4 separate regions of the Homo sapiens genome follow, and regions 2, 3 and 4 are each linked to region 1. Evidence: promoter capture Hi-C in 16 types of primary human blood cells and fetal thymus (Javierre and others, 2016). All regions are on one chromosome and are shown on one strand. The core of a region is centred on a gene start or on the middle of the fragment in contact, and the rest is flanking DNA. Distances in the headings are between cores, read along the strand shown. Region 1 holds the start of TRAM2 (translocation associated membrane protein 2). Region 2 overlaps PAQR8 (progestin and adipoQ receptor family member 8). Region 3 has its middle 26 kb from the start of PAQR8. Region 4 overlaps PAQR8 (progestin and adipoQ receptor family member 8).

Region 1 (2,700 bases), core at 1-2,500:
GTTCCTCACAAGACGAAGGTTCAACTTTGAGAAAGGTCAGCCTTGAAGTTAAATGAGGTTTAGTCCAATCTAGGCATTACTTTGTCATTTCCTTGAGAGTCAGATAAGGGAATTACAGACCCAAGACTGTATTTTAAGTAAGGTGGAGTGCAGATTGAGGAAGTAAAATTTCTCTAGGAACTCCATCCTGTCTCAATTACATTCCACCGCGTGCCACTTTTAAAAAACCATATTTATTTAGAAGTGAAATAACTGTGGACCTAATAAAAAATGGAATAGGAATTAGTTTTTTTTGTTCATTACGTATTTCTGCACATCTAGAAAGTAACTGACTGCTTCATTACTGGTAGGATTAAATCCAATATTTGCGAATATAATTTATTAAGAACACCTTTTGTCCTTCCAGGAGTACTTTTAAGACTTAATATTAAATAGAAACTTTCAGTGAGAAAGTTCCTTCCTTTTTTGCTTCTTCTGTGTTTATTCTTCCACTTCTTCTGATTAATATGTAAGGTAGACTTTCGGTGAAATGTGTGTAGCTAATTAATGGTGGCATGAGGGTCCCAAAAATTACTGGGCAAAACTGCAATCATCCACCCTCTCCCCGCATTGGAGCGAAAGCTCCCCTAGGGCAGGGTCTTTCGGTTTGTTGATCTACCTGAACTGTGCCTAGCCCACTGCAAGTTCTCGATAAATACTTGAGTAATCTCCATTCACTGATCGTCCGTGCAGGGCGCTGTGGCCAGCCAGAAGGCCGGTTCGCGGCTTCCCTGCTTCCGCCGCACCCGCGCCGCCCTCAGCCCCCGGGGCCACAGCCCGCAACCCCGGGAGCATCCGGCTGCCCGGCCACCCCCGGGGCGCTCGCTGCCTCCGGGGCCTGCCCTTCCCGCGGAGGAAGGAGCGGAGCGAGGAGTGGGAAAGCTGGGCCCACTTCCTGTCCGGGCAGGCCTGGGCGCCCGCCTCCTCCGCGGCCTGCTTTCTCCACCGCGAGCGGCTGAGCCTCGGGCCCCGAGAATGCGGCCGGGCGCGGCGCTGGCGCGGGACGAGGAGGAGCCGAGCCCCGCTCGCCGCCCCCGTACGCCTCCGCCCCGGTAGCCCGCGCGTGCCCAGCGGCTAGAGGGTTAAGCCCGCGGGGGGCGGGGCCAGGCGCGCCGAGTGCGGGCCGCGGGCTGGGCGGGGGCTGGGCGGGGGCTGCGGCCGGGGGCGGTTACGGGCGGCCGGGGGCGGGCGGAGGAAGGGGGCGGGCCCCGAAGTTGTTCCGCGCTGGGCGGGCGAGCGGCTGTGGGAGAGCGGGCGGCGGGCCGGCGGGCGGACCGGGCCGGTGCTGGAGAAGTTTGCGCTGCGGTTCGTGAGCGCAGGGTGCGGGCCCCGCCGGCCGCTGCGCGCCCGCTGCCATGGCTTTCCGCAGGAGGACGAAAAGTTACCCGCTCTTCAGCCAGGAGTTCGTCATCCACAACCATGCGGACATCGGCTTCTGCCTGGTGCTCTGCGTCCTCATCGGGCTTATGTTCGAGGTGAGAGCCTGGGGAGGAGGGAGCTGGAGGGACAGTGCCCCCTGTCGTGCACCGCCCGGCACACCCCTGCAGGTCAGCGGGCCCTCCTCTGATCGGAGGCTCCTGGCTGCCGTGTACGTTATCTGCACCCCGGCTTTGTGCACTGTACCCCTCCGGCCTGTACCCCGGCCAGCCCAGACAGCACCCCCAGCTCCGCGCCGTGCCAGCCATGCCATGCTCTGCCGCCCCCTTGGGCACTCATCGTATCCTGCAGCTCTGTCTGCAGCCCTGAAACCCCAGCCTGGCCTCGAACCAACCGCCGCGCTGCCACCATGGCTTGACGCGTGGGGTTCCCTTTCTGGCGTCCAGGAGCCAAGCCCAGAGACTCCCAGACCCGCAGTCATTGCACAACCCCCTCTTGCCCCAAGGGGTGGCCACTAGCTCTTCTGGGCTTTTCCAGTGGGAGAGACCCAGAACCTTTTCCACTTCCTATGTGATTTTCTGGGTGTTTTGCATCTCAGCTCTGGAACGTGCTCGGATGTTCACGTGTGGCCCTGGCCCCATCCCAGCAGTGGCCTTCTGCTCTCGTCTCGCTCCCACTTTTTTGCTGTGCTCTAGAAGGCCAATTTTTGGATATCCTTTACCACTCCGTGAACTGTCCCTTTAGATCCATCTGCGGCGACCCAGAGCTTCACCCCCTTTACAGAGACAAGAAGAGAGACAGGGATACCCTCCACTTTTTGGGGAAAGTTGATTCTCTTATAGTGTAGGAGTGGGGGGCAGAGGATGGGGATCCCACCCCCAACAGCAATGTCCTGGTGTCGGCCTCCCAGGCAGGGAGTTGTAGAAAGCCAGCAAGGGGTCAGAATTCACAAGACTGATGGGAAGGATTCCCTACTCTTGCAGAGCAAGAAAAATGTGATATTCAAAAGTGGGAAGAACTGGAGGAAGCTTGGCATGGGTTTGTTGCGGTATATCTTGTCTCAGAAGTGAGATATGTGAGCGACATTCCCCTCACTCTCACCGTGGTCTCCTCTGGTTCCTGAGACTCCTTGTCCTCCCTTCTGCGTCAGCTTGCTTATTGCATTCTCACGGTTGGGTTAGGAAGCTGTGATCATTTACAAACTTCCTTGGAGATGGAGGATGGCTTGCCTGGCTAAATTTCCTTCCCTGTCCCTCTGTCTCGGGTTCCCTGTATCTCTACGAA
Region 2 (2,700 bases), core at 156-2,655, 170 kb after region 1:
GCTAAATTTTCAGGCATGAAGATGATTCTCCTTAATTCAATGTCTCATGAATCTTAGTCAAGATCCCTTCCCTTCCTGTGCCTTGTTAAGCTATGATCCAAAAGGAAAAGGAGTATTCCTTTTATTAACAACAACAAAACTCTTAAATCCTTTGGCTTTCAAACACTGCAGCTATAACATATCCTTGGATATATGTATTAATTTAAAAGCCAATGCCTTAAAAGTCAGCTTCTATTGTATCAAGTTTTCTCCAAATTATGAGGGGCTTCCTCCACACGTTGCCCCACTTGCCAGCCTCAGGAATCTTTCTTGGTCAGTCTGGCCTTGACTTTGTGCCTCAGAAGGGCTGCGGTGGCAGCACTGCAGGCAGCCAGGAAGAAGAAGGAGAGGCAGGCCATGTGGACAGATAGGGGTCCATGGCGCTGCAGGAAGATCTCCTGCCGCCCCTGGTAGTCCAGGAGGATGGCCTCCAGCTGGGAGAGCGTACAGATGGACAGAAATGCATGGAAGATCTGATGCCCATGGCCCACGATGTCACAGGAACCCGGGAAGTACTTCTCAGGCACGGGGCAGGAGAAGAAATAAGCGCTAACCAGGAAGAAGAGGATCTGGAGGGTGTGGTACCAGGCTGCTTGCTCCTGGCAGCCAGCCAGGTGACAGAGCGCCACACGGTGTGCCACAGGGCTGATGTCTAGGATAAAAGCCAGACCTGCTGGCACCACTTGACAGATCTTCCTCATGACTGGATAAGGCCTCCGGTAACGATATTTGGCATAGCAACAGCCAGCACAAGATAACCAGCCACAGAAGGCAGCTGCTGGCAAGAAGAAAAGCCAGAACCGGTCATACCAGGCCTGGTCAGAGCTGTAGAAGAAATGAGCCAAAGCACTGCCATATTGGTAAACGCTCACGCCAACATAGTCCACAAAGTAGAAGGTGTAGTGGGAGAGCTCTGACTTGGACTGCAGCAGGTGGGCCAGAAGGCTGCAGGTGAGGTAAGTGATTGACGACAGGATGAAGAGGAGCAGAGGCAGGGAGTGGGTAGACGCCCATGGCAAGGCCTCAGCCTCGGCAAAGGCCCAGAATCGCAAGAGGACGGCCAGGGCTGCCAGTAAATGGGTCCAGACGTTGACCACCTCGTTGTGTTTCTGAAAGAGGCTGAAGAAGTAGTAGCGCCACTCGTGCCCCGTGGGGCGGTAGCCGGTGCGGATGTAAGGCTCCCGGAAGAGCTGGGGCACATCCGTTTCTGGGACAGTGCAAGGCATCTTGGGAAGCCCATCCTCCAGGATCTTGGGCAGGCGGCGCAGCTGCTGCCCGCTGACCGACAGGGTGCTCAGGCGCTCCAAGATGGCGGTCGTCATGGCAGCGGCCCGCATGCACTCCGTGCCGCGCCCTCAGGACAGGGTATGCAACCTGCAGAAAAGAAAGGAAAATTGGCAAAGCCGCAGTGAGACACGAATGCAGCTAAGACGGACAAGGAACTATGGCTATTTTCTTTTCTTTTGAGACGGGGTATCACTCTGTCGCCCAGGCTAGAGTGCAGTGGCACGATCACAGCTCATTGCAACCTCTAATTCCTGGGCTCAGGTGATCCTCCAGAGTAGCTAGGACCATAGATGCACGCCAACACGCCCGGATAATTTTTTGTTGCTGCTGTTGTTGTAGAGACAGGGGTGTCGCTATGTACAGCAGGCTGGGCCCAAACTCCTGGGCTCAAGCACTCCTCCCTCCTCAGCCTCCCCAAGTGTTGAGATTACAGGCGTGAGCCACCAGGCCGGCTAGGATCCGTGGTTATTTTAATGCAACGTGGCTTTCTGGTACAGTAGAGGAAGCAAGGAGCTGCAGACAGCTTCTTTGAGCCTCCTTTAATTCATCTGTAGAATAATGGAGTTGGACCAAGATCCCTTACTGTCCCAATATTCTTTTTTTTCTTTCTTTCTTTTTTTTTTTTTTTTTTGAGACAGAGTTTCACTCTTGTTGCCCAGGCTGGAATGCAATGGTACCATCTCGGCTCACCACAACCTCCGCCTCCCGGGTTCAAGCAATTCTCCTGCCTCAGCCTCCCAAGTAGCTGGGATTACAGGCATGTGCCACCACGCCTGGCTAATTTTGTATTTTCAGTAGAGATGGGGTTTCTCCATGTTGGTCAGGCTGGTCTGGAACGCCCGACCTCAGGTGATCCGCCCACCTCAGCCTCCCGAAGATTTTTTTTGAAACAGGGTCTTGCTCTGTCGCCCAGCTGGGATGCAGTGGCGCAATCTTGGTTCACTGCAACTTCCGTCTCCCGGGTTCAAGCAATTCTCCTGCCTCAGCCTCCCAAGTAGCTGGTATTACAGGCATGCACCACCACACCCAGCTAATTTTTATATTTTTAGTAGAGATGGGGTTTCACCATGTTGGCCAGGCTGGTCTCGAACTTCTAACCTCAAATGATCTTCCCACCTCATCCTCCAAAAGTGCTGGAATTACAGGCGTTAAGCCACCATGCCTGGCCTGTCCCAATATTCTATGTTTACTACACTCAGTGTGAGGCAAAGTTACATCTTGTAAAATGGAAATGTTAGCTACCCTAACATAATTTAGTGATACCAATGACTTAATGATTATCAAGATTTAATTATAAGTAAGGTAACCTTTAAAGGATATGGGCTTTTCTCGATATTAAAATGTAATAAACAGGCTTTAATAGCATGAAATATC
Region 3 (2,700 bases), core at 10-2,509, 240 kb after region 1:
GGGACCTAATCTACCTAGAAGTAGAGGAGATTTACAGCTGTGGGAATGGATGACACATTTGTGTTTGCAGCAGTAGGTGACCATTTCCTCCTACGTGCCTGCTCAAAGGCTTTCAAATTGCCACTGAAACTCCTTAAGCTTACAGAGTCTTTCATGGTTTAGCTCTTGCTTACCTCTCTAGATTCTTGATTGACCTTCTCCCTAGAACACTATTACACTTCTTACAGGTCTCCAAAAATGCCATGTGCTATTTTCTCTAAGCCTTTGCTTACCATTTCTCACTGCATGAAACATTCTTCACCCCTCCCCTTATCATTGCCTGGCCTTGTATCTTTTGGGTCTCCATGTAGATTATACACTCTGGAAAGCCTTCCATGACACCAACTTAGATTGTCCCCTCTATGGGCTTTAAGAGCGTGTGGTACAGCCCCTTTCTGTAGTTCCAATAGCACTGTATTGTCATTACCTACTTACTTTTCTCTTATGAAACTATAAGCTTCTTGAAGATAGGGATGGTGTCTAGCCACTTTCTTAGCACAGTGTTTAGTAAATGGAAGATGCTTAGTAAGCATTTGTTAAATGAATGAGGAGTGAGTGTTAACTTATTTCTCTCTCAGTTCAAACTCCTTTGCTTCTAAGTGTCAGAAAGCCCAATCCAAAGAGCTTAAGCAAAAAGAGGAATTCGCGGCTCATATAAGCAAAGAAGTCTAGAGGAGTGTCGTGCCCATCATTGAACCAATCGTTGTTCTTTCAGGAGAATGCAAGGCTCTGATTGGCCAAACCTGGGTCACATGTCACCCCCATTTCTGCTGTCCCAAGACCACTCAGGCTGGGGATGAGGGATGGTGCTGGAAGTGGGAAGGGGCGGGGTCTCCAAACTACAGTCCTGAACTTTCCCTGGAATTTTGGTGAGGGGATCCTGGGTAACCCTCAAAAACAAATTTCTATTAAGTAATGCCTACAATTCAGGGGGATAGGGATAACACAGATCCAGCAAAGAAATTCTAGGTTAAGCAGTCTGAGAAATGGGCAAAGAGCTAAGAATGTATAGTGTCATGCAAGGAAAGGTGACTAATATTTGTTTAGCACTGACCATGTGACAGGAGCTTTTCACACGATATATCATTTAACCCTCACAATAACTCTCAAATACATAGTTATTCCCAGTTAACAGAATCTTAGGGTAAACTGAGTCTCAGAGGGAATATGTAACTCACTTAGGCCACACAGTTCCTGGTGTCAAAAAAGGTTAGGGACTGCTTCATTAAAGGAACAAGGCTTTATTCATTTTTGTCTCCAGCGTAGGAAAGGGCCTTACTCATACTGTTCATCACTAAATATTTGTTAAATTAATGAATGAATAATTAATTGCATGAGCAAAAGATGAAAAACTGTATCCCAGGAAGAAATGAAGGTAGAGAAAGAACAGTAGGGGTGGGTTAGATTCAAACATGTTTTTAGGGCAGGTGGAAAGAGGTTGAAAATGAAAGAAAATGTTGATGATGAAGCAATGTTCCCTATGCAGTTCAAATTCTAGGAAAAAGCCTTAGATAAAAAATTTCAATATTTCTTCCCCCAGAGTGAGAGAGAGAGAGAAAAGTATGGCCTTGGGAGAGTCTGGGGTAGAGGGAAGAAAACCAAAAGCATTCTTTTCAGCTTCCTCGGTCTTCACTGTGAAAAAGTAAAGGTTCTCATTTCTACAACTGTGTCGAGTATACGCTGACCTGATGTTTTAATTCATGGCTCATCCTCACAGTACCAAGCATAGAATAGATGCTAAAATAAATGTATAAACTCACTGGGTTGAACTGAATGAAATCAAATTATCTTTTAGAAAAATTTGAATGTAGCCTTCAGAAAGGGCAGCTACCTATAAGCCTAATTTGATGGCTTGCCAGGACTTTGGTAGGTGCTGTGGGAAGATGGAGGAAGGCAGTACAATGTGCCCATGTTATCTGTTCTACAGAATATCTTTGCTGGGCAAATATCTCCTTATCATTTTCCTTTTTCAATGCAAGCTTCCACCCTACTTCTTCAGGACACCTGGGCTTGGGCAGTGATTACTAGGTTGACTGTTTGTAATAACAGGTCTGTCTTGGGAAATTATAGGCTGTGAGGTCTCAGAGGTTAGCAATCAGAAGAGATTTACTAAGCCTTCTCTGACCAGTTCCAGGGCTGTCCTCCTTAGCAGACTGACTCAGCCAGCAGTGCCACCTGTGAAACAGGTGGCAAGGCTGGTCACACTGCCTCTTTCCACATGCTATTCTGTCCACTCCCTAAGGGTCCCTGACACCAGCTGAGAGAGTGAAGCCTTGGCCTGCTGGGGATGCCTCCAGCTGCAGAAGGCAGCCTGACCTTGAATTCAAGCAGGCTTTAAATTCTTCGCCTCACAGAATGAGGTAACAGAAAGATGGATGATTACTGATTAGAACACTGTGACCTAAAAAAATTAAGTAATCCACAGTGAAAACTCATTCCCCTGTCTCTGTTTAGTCTCTGACAGGAATAAAGGATGGGATAAAGGGTAGGATAGGGAATGGGGTGGTGGCATCAGAGAGCCCCCTTTGGCCACCAGTAGGTGCCTTTATTGATGTGTTCCCATGAGAAGGAACAAAGAAAAGGGGTTGGAATAAAAAAGAAGAAAATCCTGTCATTCATGGCATAGATGAGCCTGGAGGACTTTATGTTAAGTGAAATACA
Region 4 (2,700 bases), core at 18-2,517, 190 kb after region 1:
CAAGATTGTGCCACTGCACTGCAGCCTGGGTGACAGAGTGAGACTCCGTCTCAAAAAAAAAAATCATTAGTTATTCCATAGAAGAGCTTCATTTGAAAAGTCAATCTACTCAGTTCAGATCAGTAATTGTAAACTATCACAAAGCTACAGCTTTCATCTCCATGATATTACAATTACCTACCTGCCTAACCTGTAGTATCTACAAAGGTTGTGATTGTTTATCACTCAGAATTACTTCATTTTAAAAATTTTTCAACTTTTCTTTTCTATTCAGGAGGTATATGTGCAGGTTTGTTACAAGAGTATATTGCATGATGCTGAGGTTTGCGGTATGACTGAGTCCATCATCCAGGTAGTGAGCATAGTACCCAACAGGTAGTTTTTCAACCTTGCCCCGGTCCCTCCTTCTCCCTTCTTGTAGTCCTGTGTCTATTTTTCCCTTCTCTATGTCCATGTATACCCAATGTTTAGCTCTTACTTATAAGTAAAAACATGTGGTATTTGGTTTTCTGTTTCTGCATTAATTCACTTAAGATAATGTTGCTGCAAATTCTGTTTTACAGCTCCACAGTATTCCATTATGTGTACATACCACAATTTCTTTATTCAATTCACTGTTGATGGGCACTGAGGTTCATTCCTAGGTTGATCTTTGCTATTTTTGAATAGTGCTGTGATGAACATATGAGTACATGTGTCTTTTTGGTAGAACAATTTGTTTTCCTTTGAGTACATACCCAGTAATGTGGTTGCTAGGTCAAATGGTAGTTGTGTTTGGTTCTCTGAGAAATCTCCAAACTGCTTTCTTCAGTGGCTGAAATTAATTTACATTCTCACCAACACTGTATAAACGTTCCCTAACCTCTGCAGCCTCACCAACACCTGTTATTTTTTTTTAATTTAAATAATAGCCATTCTGACTGGTGTGAGATAGTATCTGGTTGTAGTTTTGATTTGCATTTCTCTAATGATTAGTGATGTTGAGCATTTTTTCATATGTTTTTGGCCACTTGTCTGTCTTCTTTTGAGAAGTGTCTGCTCATTTCCTTTGCCCACTTTTTAATTGAGTTGTTTTTTGCTTGGTGATTTAAAGTTCCTTATAGATGCTGGATATTAGACCCCTGCATAATGTATGAATATTTTCTCCCATTCTGTAGGTTGTCTGTTTCCTCTGTTGAAAGTTTCTTTTTTGTTTTGAGACAGGGTCTCACTCTGTCACCTAGACTGGAGAGCAGTGGTGTGATCATGGCTCACTGTAGCCTCAACCTTTCCAGGCTCAGGTGATCCTCCCACTTCAGCCTCTCAAGTAGCTGGGACTACCTGCGCACACCAGATGCCCAGCTAATTTTTTGTATTTTTTTGTAGAGAGTGGGGTTTCACCATGTTGCCCAGGCTGGTCTCAAACTCCTGGGCTCAGGCAATCTACCCACCTTGCCCCCCAAAGTGCTAGAATTCCAGACATACGCCATGGTGCATGGCCAATAGTTTTCCTTTTGCTTTGCAGAAGCTCTTTAGTTTAATTAGGTCTCACTTGTCAATTTTTTGTTTTTGTTGCAGATGCTTTTGAGGACTTAGTTATAAATCTTCCCCAAGGCCTATGTCGAGAAGGGTACTTCCTAGATTTTCTTGAAGGATGTTTATAGTTTGAGGTCTTACATTGTATTAGTCTATTTTCATGCTGCTGACAAAGACATACCTGAGACTAGGTAATTTATAAAGTAAAGAGGTTTAACTGACTCACAGTTCCACATGGCTGGAGAGGCCTCACAATCATGGCAGAAGACGATGGAAGAGAAAAGGGATGTCTTATATGGCAGCCAGTAGAGAGAGAATGAGAGGGGTTTCCCCCTCTCAAGTGAAAGGGGTTTCCCCTAATAAAACCATGAGATCTTGTGAGACTTATTCACTACCACGAGAACAGTATGGGGGACACTGCCCCCATGATCCAATTATCTCCCAACGGGTCCCTCCCACAACACGTAGGCATTATAGGAGCTACAATTCAAGATGAGATTGGGTGGGGACACAGCCAAACCATATCATACATTTAAGTCTTTAATCCATTGTGAGTTAATTTTTGTATATGGTGATAGGTAGGAGACCAGTTTCATTCTTCTGCATATGGTTGGCCAGTTTTCCCAGCACCATTTATTGAATAGGATATCCTTTCCCCATTGTTTATTTTTGTCAACTTTATCAAAGATCAGTTGATTGTAGGCGTGCAGCTTTATTTCTGGGTTCTCTATTCCATTGGTCTGTGTGTCTTTTTTTGTACCAGTACCATGCTACTGTAGCCTTTTGGTTACTATAGCCTTGTAGTATTTTGAAGTTGGGTAATGTGATGCCTCTGGCTTTGTTCCTTTTGCTTAGGATTGCTTTCACTATTTAGGCTCTTTGTTTCCATATGAATTTCAGAATAGTATTCTTTTTCTAACTTAGAATTATTTTAGCTCCAAGATTTCAGGTTTGAAATTCCTCCTCCTTGATTACAACACTCCTAACTTCCACCTGTAATATTTCATCACACCTGCTAAAGATACTTTTTGGGTGTCTCATAACCTCTAGTCTCTCAACTCTTCTTCTCTCAGTGACCCATTGCATTTGGACTCACTGCCATCCCAATACAAACCCAACCCAGTGCTAGCCATTTCACTCTGCCCTAACCAGCACTCCTCACCCTCCACCCGCCACACCTTTGCT

What was found. Contacts are between HindIII fragments. The CHiCAGO score rates a contact against its expected background, and 5 or more counts as called.
Region 2: a fragment that was not itself captured here is called in contact with the fragment with the promoter of TRAM2 in region 1 in 10 of 17 cell types (non-activated CD4 T cells, naive CD8 T cells, endothelial precursors and 7 more); the score reaches 10.6 in non-activated CD4 T cells.
Region 3: a contact is called between a fragment that was not itself captured here and the fragment with the promoter of TRAM2 in region 1, in 2 of 17 cell types (non-activated CD4 T cells and naive CD4 T cells). The highest score is 5.5, in non-activated CD4 T cells.
Region 4: a contact is called between a fragment that was not itself captured here and the fragment with the promoter of TRAM2 in region 1, in 4 of 17 cell types (naive CD8 T cells, non-activated CD4 T cells, total CD8 T cells and 1 more). The highest score is 6.8, in naive CD8 T cells.

What each region holds. Positions count from the first base shown.
Region 1 is chr6:52,575,610-52,578,309 of GRCh38, reverse strand. TRAM2 (translocation associated membrane protein 2) reads left to right here and starts at 1,250. Exons shown (of 11, transcript NM_012288.4): 1 at 1,250-1,514. The coding sequence starts at 1,395. It overlaps TRAM2-AS1 (TRAM2 antisense RNA 1), which reads right to left and starts at 1,108. Exons shown (of 3, transcript NR_103446.1): 1 at 1-1,108. RefSeq lists a silencer at 678-1,537. The HindIII fragment of the contact is 3,868 bases long and covers 1-2,446 here.
Region 2 is chr6:52,401,875-52,404,574 of GRCh38, reverse strand. PAQR8 (progestin and adipoQ receptor family member 8) reads right to left here. Exons shown (of 2, transcript NM_133367.5): 2 at 1-1,413. The coding sequence starts at 1,361. The coding sequence ends at 297. Among named protein-coding and RNA genes, the nearest start is that of EFHC1, 17 kb to the left of the region's middle. The HindIII fragment of the contact is 3,631 bases long and covers 1-2,700 here.
Region 3 is chr6:52,335,220-52,337,919 of GRCh38, reverse strand. No RefSeq gene overlaps it. Among named protein-coding and RNA genes, the nearest start is that of PAQR8, 26 kb to the left of the region's middle. RefSeq lists a cis regulatory region at 718 and an enhancer at 634-803. The HindIII fragment of the contact is 1,522 bases long and covers 499-2,020 here.
Region 4 is chr6:52,384,382-52,387,081 of GRCh38, reverse strand. The region is part of intron 1 of PAQR8 (progestin and adipoQ receptor family member 8); the gene reads right to left. Among named protein-coding and RNA genes, the nearest start is that of PAQR8, 24 kb to the right of the region's middle. RefSeq lists an enhancer at 788-897. The HindIII fragment of the contact is 3,951 bases long and covers 1-2,700 here.